4 separate regions of the Homo sapiens genome follow, and all the other regions are linked to region 2. Evidence: promoter capture Hi-C in 16 types of primary human blood cells and fetal thymus (Javierre and others, 2016). All regions are on one chromosome and are shown on one strand. The core of a region is centred on a gene start or on the middle of the fragment in contact, and the rest is flanking DNA. Distances in the headings are between cores, read along the strand shown. Region 1 overlaps ZNF318 (zinc finger protein 318). Region 2 holds the start of LRRC73 (leucine rich repeat containing 73). Region 3 has its middle 8.4 kb from the start of CRIP3. Region 4 holds the start of SLC22A7 (solute carrier family 22 member 7).

Evidence for each region. The method cuts DNA at HindIII sites, captures the fragments that hold promoters and counts their contacts. A CHiCAGO score of 5 or more calls a contact.
Region 1: a fragment that was not itself captured here is called in contact with the fragment with the promoter of LRRC73 in region 2 in 1 of 17 cell types (endothelial precursors); the score reaches 5.3 in endothelial precursors.
Region 3: a contact is called between a fragment that was not itself captured here and the fragment with the promoter of LRRC73 in region 2, in 2 of 17 cell types (endothelial precursors and naive B cells). The highest score is 5.5, in endothelial precursors.
Region 4: a contact is called between the fragment with the promoter of SLC22A7 here and the fragment with the promoter of LRRC73 in region 2, in 1 of 17 cell types (endothelial precursors). The highest score is 5.5, in endothelial precursors.

What each region holds. Positions count from the first base shown.
Region 1 is chr6:43,361,370-43,364,263 of GRCh38, forward strand. The region is part of intron 2 of ZNF318 (zinc finger protein 318); the gene reads right to left. It also overlaps the pseudogene RPS2P28. Among named protein-coding and RNA genes, the nearest start is that of ZNF318, 6.8 kb to the right of the region's middle. The HindIII fragment of the contact is 768 bases long and covers 1,240-2,007 here.
Region 2 is chr6:43,508,889-43,511,683 of GRCh38, forward strand. It overlaps LRRC73 (leucine rich repeat containing 73), which reads right to left and starts at 1,458. Exons shown (of 6, transcript NM_001012974.4): 1 at 626-1,458; 2 at 1-32. The coding sequence starts at 897. RefSeq lists silencers at 1,036-1,305, 1,326-1,615. The HindIII fragment of the contact is 9,076 bases long and covers 1-2,795 here.
Region 3 is chr6:43,315,835-43,318,665 of GRCh38, forward strand. No RefSeq gene overlaps it. Among named protein-coding and RNA genes, the nearest start is that of CRIP3, 8.4 kb to the left of the region's middle. The HindIII fragment of the contact is 699 bases long and covers 990-1,688 here.
Region 4 is chr6:43,296,758-43,299,582 of GRCh38, forward strand. SLC22A7 (solute carrier family 22 member 7) reads left to right here and starts at 1,503. Exons shown (of 11, transcript NM_153320.2): 1 at 1,503-1,994; 2 at 2,335-2,340; 3 at 2,633-2,736. The coding sequence starts at 1,602. LOC124901319 (a long non-coding RNA gene) reads right to left here. Exons shown (of 2, transcript XR_007059582.1): 2 at 2,185-2,825. The HindIII fragment of the contact is 22,683 bases long and covers 1-2,825 here.

The DNA of each region.
Region 1 (2,894 bases), core at 374-2,873, 150 kb before region 2:
ACAACACAGATAGATAGAAACCCAATTTCTAAAAATTTATTTTTTAATTCACCAGGTGTGGCAGTGCAGCCCATAGTCCTAGCTACTCTTTAGACTGAGCTGGGAGGACCACTTGAGCCCAGGAGTTTGAGGTTACAGTGAACTATGATCACGCCACTGCACTCCAGGCTGGGCAACAGAGCAAGACATTGTCTTTTAAAAAGTTAATAATTTTTTTTAAATAAATAGCTCCATGAATGGAACATTAAATGTGCAAATTACTTTGATGAACAGGAGAAATCAACCTAACATCCACAAGTCTTTAGAAGCCAAGTGTTTTAGAATTTTTCACATTACCTTTCATGTTCCCTTTTGAGTAGAATTACAGTCCTACATACAGGGCTGCTAAGGTGAAGACACTAAAACCCAACTTGGCTATCATCCAAACCTGATATAAAACTTAACAGATTCAATAAAGGAAGAGAAAGACTACTAGAGTCTCAGAAAAAAAATAAACAAACATCTGGCCAGGCATGGTGGCTCATGCCTGCAATCCCATCACTTTGGGAGGCTGAGGCAGGAGGGTCACTTGAGCTCAGGAGTTTGAAACCAGCCTAGGCAACACAGTGAGAACCCCATCTCTACAAAAATTTGAAAAATTAGCTGGGCGTCGGGTGGTGTGTGCCTGTATTCCTAGCTACTTGGGAGGCTGAGGCAGGAGAATCACTTGAACCCAGGAGTTAGAGGCTACACTAAGCTATGATCGTGCCACTGCACTCCAGCCTGGGTGACAAGAGTGAGACCCTGTCTCTTAAAAATAAATTTAAAAGGGGCCAGGCGCGGTGGCTCACACCTGTAATCCCAGCACTTTGGGAGGCCAAGGTGGACGGATCACGAGGTCAGTTCGAGACCAGCCTGGCCAAAGAAACCGCATCTCTACTAAAAATACAAAAAATTAGCCTGGCATGGTAGTCCGCACCTGTAATCCCAGCTACTCAGGAGGCTGAGGCAGGAGAATTGCTAGAACCTGGGAGGCGGAGGTTGCAGTGAGCCGAGATTGCAGCATTGCACTCCAGCCAGGCAACAGTGCAAGACTCTGTCTCAAAAAATAAATAAATAAAAATAAAAAAATAAATGAATTTTTAAAAAATAAACATCTACATACACGTCTTTTTTTTTTTTTTTTTTTTTTTGAGACAGAGTCTTGTTCTGTGCAGTGGCACAATCTGGGCTCACTGCAAACTCTGCCTCCCAGGTTCAAGCTTCTCCTGCCTCAGCCTCTGGAGTAGCTAAGACTACAGGCATGCGCCACCACTGGGTAATTTTTGTATTTTTGGTAGAGACAGGATCTCATCATGTTGGCCAGGATGGTCTCGAACTCCTGACCTCAAGTGATTGGCCCACCTCAGCCTCCCAAAGTGCTGGGATTACAGGTATGAGCCACTGCGCCAGGCCCAAACATCTACATACAAAGGATATAAATGGCCTGTATCATTGGTTGAAGACTAGACTCACTGTCAGGAGACAACCTGAGTATGCCAATGGTCCTGTGGCCTGGTTTTAGTGGACAGTAATTATCCACACAAACCATACTGAACAAAAGGGAAAGAAGAGAAATGTGTAGGGGGCAACAGTATTTTTTAAATGGCCTTGTATCTTTGTTTAGAACCTTAATCTCACTTTCTCTAAAGTAGACCTGTGCCTCTGAAACACATGATTCTACAAAGAAGACTGCTGCCCCAAACTCCTTAAGAGGAAAAATTTTAATTTTTGTAATTTAAAAATATAATTAGTTCTATCTGAAGCACATGTGCATAACAAAGTTTATGCAAAGGGGAAGTGACATCCTAGGCCTAAGAAGAACTGCTGAAGCTAACTCAAAACCTCAGCAAAGAATGAAGACAATCACACTATGTACCACCTACCCAGACTACCTACTCAATAATTTCCCCAAACAGAAGCAGCCAGAAGAGCAAGGGCTATTGCCTCAATTAAGTGATACAGTCACATATCTTGAAGCCCTTTAGAAGCTTCAATGTTATATGACATAAGACTATTTTGCCTTGCTTCTTCTCTGAGAAAACACCAAATGGCAGATGATGTCGGTGGAGGGGGTGGGGCGGGGGCAGAGGCCCCGGGGGCCCTGGGATGGGAAACCGTGGTGGCTTCCATGGAGGGGCTGGGGTTGCAGCTGTGGACAGGGCTGAGGCCACGGAGCTCGTGGAGGCAAGGCCAAGGATAAGGAGTGGATGCCTGTCACCAAGCTGGGCTGCTTGGTTAAGGACATAAAGATCAAGTCCCTGGAGAACTACCTCTTCTTCCTGCCCATCAAGGAATCTGAGATCACTGACTTTTTCCTGGGGGCCTCTCTCAAGGATGAGGTGTTGAAGATTATGCCAGTGCAGAAGCAGACCCACACTGGCCAGTTGAAAAGGTTCAAGGCGTTTGTTGCCATCGGGGACTACAATGGCCACGTCGGTCTGGGTGTTAAGTGCTCCAAGGAGGTGGCCACTGCCACCTGCGGGGCCATCATCCTGGCCAAGCTCTCCATTCTCCCTGTGCACAGAGGCTACTGGGGGAACAAGATCCACAAGCCCCACACCGTTCCTTGCAAGGTGACAGGCTACTGCGGCTCTGTGCTGGTGCACCTCATCCCTGCGCCCAAGGGCACTGGCATCGTCTCAGCCCGTGCCCAAGAAGCTGCTCATGATGGCTGGTATTGATGACTGCTACACCTCAGCCAGGGGCTGCACTGCCACCCTGGGCAACTTCGCCAAGGCCACCTTTGATGCCATCTCTAAGACCTACAGCTACCTGACCCCCGACCTCTGGAAGGAGACAGGATTCACCAAGTCTCCCTATCAGGAATTCACTGACCACCTCATCAAGACACACACCAGAGTCTCTGTGCAGAG
Region 2 (2,795 bases), core at 208-2,707:
GCCCCGCATCTGTCAGGGGGCTCCCATGCAGGCTGGAGGAGAGTGAGAGAGCAGGGTTACTGCAGTCCTCCGCACTATCTACATGGGAAAGGGGCACTTTCACTTCTGTCAGCCCTAGGTATGGGGAGGGCAGTCACAGCGCTTGAGAGGCCTGGAAAAGGAGAAGGAAAGTTCTAGATTCTCAGGGAATACAGATAGAGGGAGAATTCGGTTTGTTTTCTGGGGCAGGGATCCAGGACATTGCACAGGGAGGGGCAGAGAAGGGGTGGGTGGGTGGTGGACCGGAACTCTGCAGTGGGCAGGGCTCTCGTCCCCACGGGGATATTCCCCCTTGGGAACCAAGGAGCTGCCCCAGTGAAGTAAATGCAGATGATTAGGTGGGGAGGTACGGCCCCCACCTCATGTCAGGAACTGGTGGGTATCCCAACACGGCTAGGGTCGCGCGTGCAAAGTCCAAGCATGTGCTTGGAGGGTGCTGTGAAGGCATGGGCCGAGGCACGGTGTATGTGCATAAGGCATGTGAAGGTAGGATGGTACTGGAAGGAGTGTGGAGGAACAGGAGGTGCCAGGGGAGTGTATGGAAGGGTGCAGTGCCCGGGACCCCCTTGCGAGGGGGCGCACTCACAAGAGGGACTGGATGGAGCGGTTGGTCCGCAGAGCCTCAGCCAGCTGCTTGATGCGGCTGGGGCTGGACACGACGCCCAGGTTAAGGTTGAGCTGCGCCAGGGACGTGGCCCCGGCCAGGGCCCGGCAGATGCGGCCAAAGTCGCGGTCGCAGAGGCGGCAGCCGCGCAGTGAGAGCAGGCGCACGGCGTTGTCGCGAAGGCCGCGGCAGATGTCCCGCACCTCGGCGCCGGACAGCGGCTCCCCCGAAATCTGGATGGAGCTGGGCAGCATCGTGCCCACGGCTGGGCCTCCGGGTACGGGGCCGGAACGGAGGTTGGTGGGGCCGCGGGCGGGGCCGGGGATAGGGCCGGGGTCGGGGCCCCGGCAGGGGTCGCGGGCGGAGTGGGGCCGGGGGTGGAGGCGGCGGCTGTGGCGGAGGCTGCGGCTGCGGCGGAGGCTGCGGCGGGGGCGGAGAAGAGCTACCGGGACTGAGCCGGAGCCGGCCAGAGGTGCGGAGGCGTCCAGGGCGCGGGCCGGGCTGAAGTGGGGCGGCGCTGGGGCGGGGGCGGCCCGCACGGTCCGTGTCTGGGCGTTGGGGCGGGTGCGCGTTCCGGGGGTTGGGCAGGCGCTGCTCGGCGCTTGTCCTTGTCCCTCGCGGTCGCGGCGGCGGCGGCGGCAGCGGCAGCGAGCGGCTCAAGGGCTTCGGCTTACCGGTCTCGGCTAGGAGGCCGTACCCGCTCCCTCCTTCTCTGCCGCCCGGCTCCCCCCGACCACCCCGCGGGCCTGGCCGCACGGCTGGCAGAGAGAGCCTGAGGCGGGCGGCTGGCGGCAGCTCCGGCTCCAGCTCCAGAGAGCGAGCGGGCGGCGAGTTCCCATGGCAACGGCCGCGTCACCGGCGCTCGCCCCGCCCCCTGCCCGGCCAAGGCCACGCCGGCCCGCGAGGTTCGCGTACACTGGGTGGTTCGGGGCAAGGAGCTGGGAGCGATAGGCCGCTCTTCCCTTGGGAGTGGGGTCAGCCAACTGGCAGGCGGCAGGCGGCAGGGCTGAGTGGGTAGGGCTGACGGGGAGCGGAATGGAGGCACGCCCCGTGGAGATGGCGTTGGGCACGGTTACTGCTGCTTCTGCCCATTCTTCCATCCTTCCCCGTTCCTAAGGTCCATACCCCCGCCGGAATCCAGGGCACTGTTCCCTCCTATTTGGAAGGCCCCAGGGCCCTTTCATCCGCGCCGCGCCTCGCTCCCGCCCCCGTGACTCGAGGCGCAGCGTGCGTGGTGATCCCGGCCCATGGGGACTTCCCCGCTTGCTCCTCGCCAAGATGGCGGCCTCATCAGGGAGGCCCCAGGGGCCACGGCTGGGCAGAGCCAGCTTGAGCTGCTGGGGAGAAGGGTACCCCATAGGGTCCCTAGGGCAGGGGAGCCTCAGATAGATGCAAGGTCCTGGTGCCACACCTTCTCAGGTACGCAGGGCACTGTTGACATCTGAGGGTGTGTCCGTGCCGCGAGACTGGGGCAGCCAATACAAAGAAGGTGCCAGGGCCAGGGCCCTGGAGCACTGGTGAGGACGTGAAGGCGGCTGAGCCACACTGCACGGTGCAGGCGGTGCTGTCTCAACTTTGTCCTCTGGCCAGGGTGGTGGGGGACTCACTTGTGTAACGCAGGACAAATGAAGGGCACCTCTGTTTGTCCCTTTGTTAGGAGGGATAGATGCTGCTGACCCAGATTTACTAGTGTTAAGATGATTATTTTACATAAAATATAATATTCAATATAGTGAAGGGAGGTCAAAGGCCCTATTCCCACTCTTAGCCACCTGAATTAACTTATTAAGTGGAGCATATTAAAGAGGTGGTGGGGGTGGATGGTGCTATGTTAGGAGTGGTGGTTGGTTTTAAGAGGAAAGACAGAAAAACTAAAAGGAGCTGGCCCCAGTACCACCAAGGCAAAGCCAAATTTGGCTTCAATTAAGAGCTCCACAGGAAAATTATCAACACAATGCCCAGGTGCAGAAGATCCTTGTTTTGACACGGGGTTTAAGTCGGGATGTTTTGTTCAATTGTCACTGCTTCCTTGGCTTCCCAAGAGAGCAGCTGAGCCCAGACTCAAGCTGGCTGCAGTGTTCCATCAGGCTTATGGCTTTTGTGCTTGAGGCCTCCCTGCCGCTTCATGGGTCAGGTGTGATATTCAATCACT
Region 3 (2,831 bases), core at 89-2,588, 190 kb before region 2:
ATGCCCGGCTAATTTTTGTATTTTTAGTAGAGACAAGGTTTCACCATGTTGGCCAGGCTGGTCTTGGACTTTTGACTTCAAGTGATCCACTCACCTTGGCCTCTCAAAGTGCTGGGATTACAGACATGAGCCACCACCCAGCCCATCATCTTTATTATTGATAAAGGACAGGTTGTAGTTTAGAAAGTGAAATAAATATGGTAACTTCCTGCCTACCTCCTCCACTCCAATCTGGGCTTTGTCTGCCCCCTTAGTCTGTGAGATCCATGAGAGCAGGGACCAGGCTGCTTTGCCAACCATTGCATATATTTCCAGTGCCTTGCTCAAATCTCTGGCACATAGTGCTCAACAAATACTTGCTGGTGAATGAATGTTACATGTTATATACAAGTCCCCCTGAGTGTGATAGATGAGTGCTAGTGAGAGATGTGGGAATAAGAGGGGACTGGTAGAGGTTGAGAGTTGGTAACAACGAGTGTCCTGGAGTGAAGGAAGTTCAGCTGCCTAGGAATAAGGTCTCAGGAATTTGTTTCCTTTTTTCCTTCAAGAGACAGGATCTTGCTCTGTCACCCAGGCTGGAGTACAGGTCACAGCTCACTGTAACCTGGAACTCCTGGGCTCAAGCAATCCCCCCATCAGTCTCCTAAGTAGCTAGGACTACAGCCATGTGCCACTGTACCTCGCTAATTTTTTATTTTTTGTAGAGATGGGGTTCCACTACGTTGCCCAGGCTAGTCTTGAACTCCTGGCCTGAAAAGATCCTCCTGCCTTGGCTTCCCAAAGCGCTGTGAGTCACTGTGCCCCGCCAGGAGTTTTGTTTCTCAATATACATGAGGATCAACATGTATGATACAAAACAGAAAATATAACTTAACTGATCCTGATTATAAATAGTAGGTAACTAATTAAGTAAATAGAGAACTGAAAATTTGCTTTTGGTAGCAAACAAGTCCCACCAATTGTAGTCATTCATAAGAACTTACTAATTAAGCTTAATTAGCATGTGGCACAATTATGTCTATCATTAATTATGTGGCAAATAAGAGAATGTGGGGAAGTGTTATGTAAACTATAAAGCAACCTTATAAATAAGGCTGCTATTATGTGTCAGGTTAGCTTTGCAGTGAATTTGATTACAACAACAAACTCCACCCATTTATGTCTTTGTAGGCTTGTTCAAGTACATGGTCATATGCCTGTGACTTTTTTTTTTTTTTGAGACAGAGACACACCCTGTAACCCAGGCTGGAGTGCAATGGCGTGATCTTGGCTGGCTGCAACCTCTGCCTCCCGGGTTCAAGCAATTCTCCTGCCTCAGCCTCCCAAGTAGCTGGGATTACAGGCATGCACCACCATGCCTGGCTAATTTTTTGTATCTTTAGTACAGATGGGGTTTCACTTTGTTGGCCAGGCTGGTCTTGAACTCCTGACCTTGTGATCTGCCCACCTTGACCTCCCAAAGTGCTGGGATTACAGGCGTGAGCCACTGTGCCCGGCCATGCCTGTGACTTTTAAGGCATTACCCAGAACTTTGTTCTTAGATAACTCTTTTGAAAGGGAAATCACTCAGTTCTGGTAAGTTAATGAAAAATCAGTCTTATTTCTTTATAGTTGTGTTTCTTAATCCTTACTACCCATAAACCTTTTGCTTTCTCATTGCATCTTCTGCATGTCTGCTCCAACTACAAAGCTTTACTTTCTGTAGTTTATATTACTTTTTAAAAAGGGAAACACACACAAAACAAAAAAAGACTGAATTTGCTTTCTTAAAACATACTAATCACCCCACCCACAGAGAACTGCTGCTGTATAGTTATAAACATCATTTATGGCTCTAGCAAGAGTCTGTTTAATTTTTTTCCCCCTCATTTTCCAGCATCATCTTGCCATTACATGAACCTGTTGAGAGTACTCTGTATAAAGCTAATAGTGGTTAGCTGCTTAGGGATATTGAGTAGGCTACATTTTGTGATTCAGTGGCATCAACTAGACTAATTCAGAATCAAGACTGCAGGAAAGGACACCCTAAACCTTTGCCATGAGTGCCTTCAACCTATGTTTGCGAAGAAATCAATAACATCTTTAAACGATGGTTTTTCATGCAAAGATGGATTTGGCTTTTCAAGTATTCACTTAGAAATGTGTATTTCATCTGAAAATATATAAAAATAACTACCTACAAATAATTTGCAGCATGAAAAATGTATCCATATGCTGGAAACTGAGGAGGAATAGAAAGAAGTGAAACTTGGTAGTCAGCTTGCTTATAAATCTGATAGATGGTGGCAATGCTCCGTGGAGTTGGCGTAAAGTCCTAGTAACTTCCTCATCTTCATGCTAAGGTCTGGAGGGTAATTTTTAAATAATATACAAAAATAGTCCTTACAGGTCATGAGACTATGTTAATGCTATGTTAATGAGGCTAAAACAGTTTAATCTTGTGATTCATACAAATGCAAATGCTTACCTTTCCATAGAGGAGTCTTTCATTTCCTCTATGAAGCTCAAGGTCACAGAATCAGGAGTCAAATTCCACCCTCTTCCCAAATCCAAAATGATTGGGCTTTTCCTCTTCTTCTCCTGGGCTTTTGGAACAGGCAGAGCTATAAAGCGCTTATTTGTAATTTCTACCCTCCTATTACCAAAAAAGAAGGCAGCATCTTAGTGGAGACAAGAAACTGAACACTGATCTTTTGATAAAAGCCATAAAGAGAAAGTCTACAAAGAAGGCACTGAACCTTTGTAGCTTTATATTTTTATTTTCTACTTTGAAGCATTTCCTTTGAAGAACCTCATCTCTCCCTATTCCATGTTAATTCAAATTTGTCTAT
Region 4 (2,825 bases), core at 253-2,752, 210 kb before region 2:
ATCTAGTCCTAGGGAAGTCATAAGGGCCAAGCTAAGGAGCTAGACTTTCCCCCTCAGGCAGCAGAAGCTGGTGAAGGGTTTTAAACAGGGATGTGACCCTCTTAGATTTGTGTTTAAATGTTCACTGTGGCCAGTGTATGGAGAATGGGTTGAAAGGGGTGAGACTGGAGACAGGGAGGGTTAGCTTATTTTAACCCTCCTGTAAGCTCCCTAAGGGTAGGGACCGTGTCTGAGGCATCTATGTACCCTCTAGAATGGCGAGGATGCACTAGAGACTCAAACATTTCTTCTCATTGTCACCCCCTGTCACTGCCACCACCATTAGCTGCCTCTTGCTTCACTCCATGGCTGTCAGCACCCCCATTAACACACGCCATGCCATCGATTTAGCTCCTTTCCCAGCGCTTTCTCAGGGATCCCAGCCTGGAGCAGACTGGGACATCACCAGCTCAGCAGCTTAGGTCAAAAGTGAGATTCCTGGTCTGGAGTCAGGGGACCTGGTCTTTTCTTCAGCTCTGCTGCTGAGTCATTGTGTGACCCCAGCAGGTCCCCTCCCTGTCTTTAGTTTTCTGACCTGTTCAAAGTAGGAGCTGGATTAAACCAGTGGGTCTGCCAGCTAAGTGTTTGGAGAATCAGATGAGAATAAACCAGACATTGCTGGTTTCTGCTGTACTTTTGCTGCAGGGACCATGATTGAGAATTGAGTGGGAGGGTCAGATTGAACATTTGAGTCTTAGGTATTGCATGTACCTTTGACAAGACCTTGGTAACTCCCCCTCCCCCATTCCCTACCCCTCCAAAAGGTAATCTTAGGCATTGCAGGTACCTTGGCAACATGTCCCCCGCCATTCCCTATCCCTCCAAAAGGTAATTTAGGAAGCTGCTGGAAATAGGGGAATGGGACAGGCAGTTGGAACCATATGTATGGGGAGAGTCCCTGAGTGAAGTGGGAATGGGATGAGCCTGGGATCCTCAGAGACATCAAGTTGCCCGGTGTGATCACAGGTGTGTCTTAGGCCAGGGCATCAGCTCCCAGCAGGGGAGAGGGATGCGAGGAGGCCTCATGGCTCAGCAGAAAGAAACCTGGTTAGGATCCAGCTTTCAGTCCTGAATCCTGGGCTGTCGGCCAGGCCATGGCTGTAGCTGCAAATAGGCAAGGCTGACCTAAGGTCTCACAGGACAAAGGGCACCCTGGGAGAGCTGGCCCCAGGCCCCAGGGGCCTCCTCTTCTTAGGGATCCTGGGAGCTCTGCTGACCAAGGGGCTAGGGGCTCACCTCCTATGCCATCACCCAGCTACCTCATCATGGTAGCCTTGGTCCCTGAACACTAATGGGTAAGCCCCAGAGCCACGAGCCAGTGACCTCTGAATGGATGGCTTCCCCTTCCCCCAGGCACCAGGCAAGACAGGTAGAGGTCCCTGGAGACCTGATGGCTGGGGAGGGCCCAGTCCTGGGCCAGCCCCTGAGGGCTGGATTCTGGCTGCAGGCTCTCCAGTCCATCCACTCCCACCTCCAGAGTCCAAGGGTCTATGTGGTGGGCAGTTTGAGCTGGCTGGATACTAGAGGGAGGCTGCACCTGAAGCATTTGGTGGGTGAGCAGCATGGGCTTTGAGGAGCTGCTGGAGCAGGTGGGCGGCTTTGGGCCCTTCCAACTGCGGAATGTGGCACTGCTGGCCCTGCCCCGAGTGCTGCTACCACTGCACTTCCTCCTGCCCATCTTCCTGGCTGCCGTGCCTGCCCACCGATGTGCCCTGCCGGGTGCCCCTGCCAACTTCAGCCATCAGGATGTGTGGCTGGAGGCCCATCTTCCCCGGGAGCCTGATGGCACGCTCAGCTCCTGCCTCCGCTTTGCCTATCCCCAGGCTCTCCCCAACACCACGTTGGGGGAAGAAAGGCAGAGCCGTGGGGAGCTGGAGGATGAACCTGCCACAGTGCCCTGCTCTCAGGGCTGGGAGTACGACCACTCAGAATTCTCCTCTACCATTGCAACTGAGGTACTTAAGCCCAGAAGTTGAGAGACATGTGAGAGGGATGGGCCTGCCATTGCCTTGGGTGGTTACTGTGTAGGCATTAGATGTATTACTTTACCTCTTAAAGTCTCAGTTTACCAATCTGTAGATGGGGGCTATGAATATAAGGCACTTTTAGTTCATGGCTTGTAGTAACAGGATCCTACACAAGAACTGTTATCATCATCATTAATTGGGAGGTGATTAAGGCAGGGAAGGGCTAAAGTGGCTTCAGGGAGTTGAGACAAAGAGCTGAGAAGGCAATTTCTGCAGCAAGAGGTGGAGAAACAATAGAGGCCTTCTTTTCTCCCTTCCTCTTTTCCAGTCCCAGGTCGGTATTTACATAATCCATCTGGAGGTGGAATGTCGGTGGAGGCAGTCTCCCTGGGAGGCAGCAGGTCGAGGCCTTCCTTGGGAAGAAGCTGAGGCTGCAGGACTGGGGAGGGACAAAGTTTCCTATTCCCCAAGCTGGCGTGAATCGTTGGGAGGTTTATTATCTGGCATGGAGGTACCAGAATGGCAGAGTTCGCCTCAGAAGGCTCCAGGGTCTGGAGAGGAGGAGCTGGTGCCTGCTGGAGAGGGGCTGATGTTCATAGGAGGTCCCTTTCTGCCTGTCCTTGCAGTGGGATCTGGTGTGTGAGCAGAAAGGTCTGAACAGAGCTGCGTCCACTTTCTTCTTCGCCGGTGTGCTGGTGGGGGCTGTGGCCTTTGGATATCTGTCCGACAGGTGGGGTGAGGCACTGGGCCAATAAGAAACTGGCTGGGGGAACTTTCTCCCACTAGCTGGGGTATGAGCCTAGTCTACCTATGCCTTAG